Linked DNA regions of Homo sapiens: region 1 is linked to region 2. Evidence: promoter capture Hi-C in 16 types of primary human blood cells and fetal thymus (Javierre and others, 2016). All regions are on one chromosome and are shown on one strand. Each heading gives the region's core, a stretch centred on a gene start or on the middle of the fragment in contact. The rest is flanking DNA. Distances are from core to core; before and after follow the strand shown.

Region 1 (2,700 bases), core at 43-2,542, 1.2 Mb after region 2:
CACCTCCACCATCAGACTGTCAACTCTATGGGGGCAGTGATCTGAGGCCGAACTGAGCTCGACATATTCCAGGAACAGGGGACAGGGCAGGATGCAGCCCTCCAGAAACACCCAGAGACAGGATAAGGCCAGACCCTCCAGAATGCATGTGGTGGGCCTGTTACAGATTTTGTATTTTATTTTAGTATAATGAGGAAAAAAAGTCTTCCCGGGTTTTGTTTTGTTTTGAGACAGGGACTTGCTCTGTTGCCCAGGCTGGAGTGCAGTGATGCCATCGTAGCTCATTGCAGCCTCAAACTCCTGGGCTCAAGTGATCCTCCTGCCTCAGCCTCTCAGTCTGAATACCTAGGACTACAGACGAGCATCACCACACCTGACTAATTTTTAAATTTTTTGTAGAAACGGGGTCCCACTATGTTGCCCAGGCTGGTCTGGACTCCTAGCCTCAAGCAACCCTTCTGCTTTGGCCTCCCACAGTTCTGGGATTGTAGGAGTGAGCTGCTGCCCCTGGTGTTCCCAGGTTAAGCAGTGAATGCATCATCTAATTTATGCTGTAAGATCTGTCTCCCTTCTCTGGGGAAAAAGCGTGGAGGAGGCCAGAGTAGACTGGGAAGAACATAGGTATATATGTGTTTATATAGAATATCTTCCATACCACAGCAATTCCATCCAATCCCCTTTCTCAAACATGAAGGGGGGTGGATCACGAGGTCAGGAGATCAAGATCATCCTGGCTAACACGGTGAAACCCCATCTTTACTGAAAATACAAAAACAAAATTAGCCGGGCGTGGTGGCGGGCGCCTATAGTCCCAGCTACCAGGGAGGCTGAGGCAGGAGAATGGCGTGAACCCAAGAGGCGGAGCTTGCAGTGAGCCAAGATCGCACCAGTGCACTCCAGCCTAGGTGACAGAGCGAGACTCCGTCTCAGAAAAAAAAAAAAAAAACCACGAAGGGGCTGGGCTTCTCTCGGCATGGTAGCCAGGTTCCAAGTAAGAAAGTAAGACTATTTCACCAGCAAGTGTTCTTGCTGGAAGTAGAAGGAAGCCTCCACTTCCTTTTTCATGGAACACTTGCTGGTGAAATAGTCTTACTTGGAACCTGGCTACCATGCCAAGAGGAAACCCAGCCCCTTCATGTTTGAGAAAGGGGATTGGATGGAATATATATATATATAATATATATATATATATTTTTTCTTTTTTCTTCCCAGTGGCAGTATTGGTCTAGGTGCCAGAGGATGGGGGCTTGGACCAGGGAAGTTGCAGTGGGGAGGGAGTGGAGGAATCTGAGAGCTATTTTGGAGGAAGAATCTCTGCATTCAAGCGTGGAGGGCGTGCTTCTCCTTAGCTGCAGGAAAACCTCAATGCGTCTGCTGCTTCTAGTCTCTTATTCTCTCCCTTTATATATTTCCTTTGCATTTTTATTATCCATGTATTGAAACTCCTCTGACATTGATTCAAACTGCTACAACTGCCACAATACCGAGAGGAGCTATTTATAACACGCAGTCCTTAGGTGGGAATGCAGCTCTCTGCCAAGTGCTACTACAGAGATTGTCGGCAGTCTGCCAGCTCCCAAATGTTTCTAATTCAAAGCATTTTCCCATCACCCTCTACAGCTAGGATTTCTCAACAGGGGCACAATTGACATTTTGGGTGAGATAATTCTTTGTTGTAGGGACCTGTCTTGTGAATTGTAGGATGTTTAGCAGAATCCCTATCCTCTACTCACTAGATGCCAATAACAACCACTCCCCTACACCCGGTGTGACAAGAAAACCTCACCAGACATTGTCTAATGTCAAAACTGTCCCCAGTTGAAAATGATTGTTCTACAGAGATAATTCAGAGAAAGCCCTGCCCCTAGGGCTGAGCTAATAATTCAGCATTCAGCCAGGTGCAGTGGCTCATGCCTGTAATCCTAGCACTTTGGGAAGCTGAGGTGGGTGGACTGCTTGAGCCCAGAAGTTCAAGACCAGCATGGGGCACATAGCAAGACCCTCCCCCGCCCATCTCTGCAAAAGATCATAAAAAATTAGGCTGGGGACAGTGGCTCATGGCTGTAATCCCAGCACTTCGGGAGGCTGAGGCGGGCGGATCACCTGAGGTCAGGAGTTCGAGACCAACCCAGCCAACATGGTGAAACCCTGTCTTTTTTTTTTTTTCTTTTTTTTTGAGACAGTGTCTCTCTCTGTCACCCAGGTTGGAGTGCAGTGGCCCAATCTCGGCTCACTGCAAGCTCCGCCTCCCAGGTTCACGCCATTCTCCTGCCTCAGCCTCCTGAGTAGCTGGGACTACAGGCGCCCGCCACCACACCCAGCTAATTTTTTGTATTTTTAGTAGAGACAAGGTTTCACCCTGTTAGCCAGGATGGTCTCGATTTCCTGACCTCATGATCTGCCCGCCTCGGCCTCCCAAAGTGCTGGGATTACAGGCGTGAGCCACCGAGCCCGGCCTAAACCCTGTCTTTACTAAAAATACAAAAATTAGCCAAGTGCAGTGGTGTGCACCTGTAATCCCAGCTACTCAGAAGGCTGAGGCAGGAGAATAACTTGAACCTAGGAGGTGGAGGCAGCAGTGAGCCAAGATTGTACCACTGCACTCCAGCCTGGGTGAGAGTACAAGACTCTGTCTCAAAAAAAAGAAAAAAGAAAAAAAAAAAGCCAGGCAGAGTGGTCTTAGCTACTTGGGAGGCTGTG
Region 2 (2,725 bases), core at 79-2,578:
GACTTTTGGAATTGTTTAATCAAACACAGGCCATCTTTAAAGTCAAGGCTACTCTCTGTATCCAGTTTGGACACAGCAGCAACAGGTTTGGCAGTACACTGCAAAATGAGGAGTCAAAAAGATTGGGAAAATATTCAGGGTTTGTAAGAGGTTCCTGCATCCCCGCAAGGGCTCCAAGAAGTCTGGTTCAGGATCCTGTCAGGCAAGCTCTGAGTAGCTCTTCCTTCCTTCCTTCACAGCATTGATCTTTAAGCAGCACCTGCTTCTGTAGGTACTCAAGAACCCTAAGACCCCCTAATGCCCACTGTCAGCATCAAGATTTACAAAAAAGTTAGTTTAACGATTGTCAAAGCAAAGAATTTCCAAGAACAAGTTAGCAAAGAAAGTAGACATTTGGAACACTAAGGTGATGACCAAGATGAGGAAGGAGTACACGAAAGAACAGGCAGCTCAAGAGAGAAATTTCTGTAGTTTGAGACTGCTTTCCCAAGGAGGCATTGGGTTTATCAGTGGTCCCTGCAAAATGCTTGTGTGAGCTGTTTAGTGTTTAGGCCCTTGGAAGGGTACATTCGCTTCATAGAAAGTTGTGGCCTTGACAAAGAAAGGGGTGGGCGAATTAGGTAGGTGGGGAGGCAAGAAGAAGCCCCCTATGAGAAGAGATTGTCAGGTTGCACCTTTTCATGTTCATCAACGGGGAAGGAAGACTGAAGCAAAATAGAAAGGAATGAGTGGGCCTTGGGAGCGAACGTTGAGGCAAGCTACAAAGATTCCTAGGAATCAGGAAGCACTTTGGAAAACAGGTGATTCCATGGGGAGGAGGGGGTAAGGTGACTGGGTGAGGGCCGCAGACTTCTTAGGAACAAAACTGAGGTGCTGTCAGGGCTTTTGAGGGTAGGTCAAACTGTAGGGTAGCTGGGTCAGAACCTGGGGTTGGAAAGGGTGGTGCAAAAGGACAAGCTGTTAAGAATGCTAAAGGGAAGGCCACAGGGCTGGGAGAGAAGGACCAGGAAATGCAGAAGGACCGGCCATTGGGCAATGGGTTTGGGGAACACCGGGAGAGGCACACGGACAGCGAACAGAGGGAGGGCCCGGCAAGCACTGACTTTCCCGCAGCACGAAGAGATCCGTCTGCTTGTCGGAGTTGAGGTCCCCGAAAGCCGCAAGGGTGCCCCAGGCCTCGGCCCCAAAGAGCTCGGCCGTGACGTTGTGCAGCGCCCGCGCTGGGACCGGCCCGACTCCCAGTAGTGCAAGCCCTGCGAGGAGCGGCGAGAAGAGGGCCCAGGAGCTCGGGAGCCGGCCCGCCGCCGCCATGGCAGCCCCTCAGCCCCCGCCCGCCGGCCCAACGCCGCGCTTGACGACAGCCGCAAAGCACCGCGTTACCGGCCGAGAGAGTGGCGCGCAGCCCCGGGACGCGTAAGAGCCGCTGCCGGCTCCTTTTTCTCTCTCCCACTAGGGCTGCCCTTCCGACGCTAAAAAAGCAGTGGAGCTAGGGTGAAAGCCGCCCTCACGCTCACTTCCGGCAGGCGCGCCTCCCGACAGTGTCGTGCGGGGGGCGTGGCCCGGCATTGCTGACAGGCGGCCCCGGGGGCGGTGGCCAAGGCGGCGACCGGAGCGCGATGGCGGGGGCGGCGGGACTCACGGCAGAAGTGAGCTGGAAGGTCTTGGAGCGAAGAGCTCGGACCAAGCGCTCAGGTTTGGCTGGCTGGGGCGCCGCCCCCCACCCGAGTACCTTGGGTGGTGCTTCGCCTCAAGCGCCTTGGCGGGAGGCAGGTGGGGGCCCTGGGAATGAACCTGTGCCCCGAGTTCCTCCTTAGAAAGCAGGTGGCGGCCCTGGCCTTGTTTCTAATATCTTCCTCCACCTCTAAAAATTAGGTGGCAGAGCCAGCTCCACTCTGCGTGTGCCCCCGACTCTATTCCGCTTGTGAGCCCCACTCGGAAAGTAGGCAGCGGTCCGGACTTCCCTTAGAGTCTTCTAACTTAAAAATCGGGCGGCGGCACATTCCTGGGAAAGGGAATGTGTCTTCCCTGTGAATGTGTCTTTCCTGTGAATGTTCTCTGCAAAAGTCAGATAGCTTAATCAGACCAAGTCAGATGTAACTACGATCTGGCTGCAGAAAGCCGGCGTCTGGGCTCCTTGCTTTATGTCTTATATCCCTTTTACATTCCCCACAGGTTCTAAGCAGTAGACCTGTCATCTATCTAGCAGAAACTGAAGGAGACTGGGCCTCAGATATTGAAGAGTATAGTTAGGGCCCAGAAAGAAAAGGGCTTCTTAAGTGGCCCCAGGTTGTGTGGTTTCCAAACCCGAAAGCATAGAGGTCAGAAGGTGCCTTGCAGGCAGTTTTAACAGTTCCAAGTGTCCCGAACTGACTTGTTCAAATTGCAACGTCATGACTTGTGGCGTTATTAAAACTTCCTGTATTCCTGGTTGGCTGGATATAATCTTGAACAAAAGGCATGCACTTAAACAGGAAAGGTGAAAGGCGGAATGCAGGTTTTCAGCTAAGGAGCTTCCCTTTTAAAGAATTGATGAAGTGTCATTATTGGGGGTGGGTGTGAAAGGTGTTAGCTAGGAAAATTAACTTTGCACTTGCATTGATATTAAGAAATTATTTTCGGACGGGCGCGGTGGCTCACGCCTGTAATCCCAGCACTTTGGGAGGCCGAGGCGGGCGGATCACCTGAGGTCAGGAGTTCGAGACCAGCCTGGCCAACCTGGTAAAAC

The links. The method cuts DNA at HindIII sites, captures the fragments that hold promoters and counts their contacts. A CHiCAGO score of 5 or more calls a contact.
Region 1: a contact is called between a fragment that was not itself captured here and the fragment with the promoter of ITFG1 in region 2, in 1 of 17 cell types (neutrophils). The highest score is 7.8, in neutrophils.

Annotation. Positions count from the first base shown.
Region 1 is chr16:48,616,276-48,618,975 of GRCh38, forward strand. No RefSeq gene overlaps it. Among named protein-coding and RNA genes, the nearest start is that of N4BP1, 7.4 kb to the left of the region's middle. RefSeq lists a silencer at 1,423-1,717. The HindIII fragment of the contact is 5,376 bases long and covers 1-2,700 here.
Region 2 is chr16:47,459,735-47,462,459 of GRCh38, forward strand. It overlaps ITFG1 (integrin alpha FG-GAP repeat containing 1), which reads right to left and starts at 1,329. Exons shown (of 18, transcript NM_030790.5): 1 at 1,104-1,329. The coding sequence starts at 1,311. PHKB (phosphorylase kinase regulatory subunit beta) reads left to right here and starts at 1,597. Exons shown (of 31, transcript NM_000293.3): 1 at 1,597-1,692. The coding sequence starts at 1,617. RefSeq lists a silencer at 1,238-1,707. The HindIII fragment of the contact is 8,409 bases long and covers 1-2,725 here.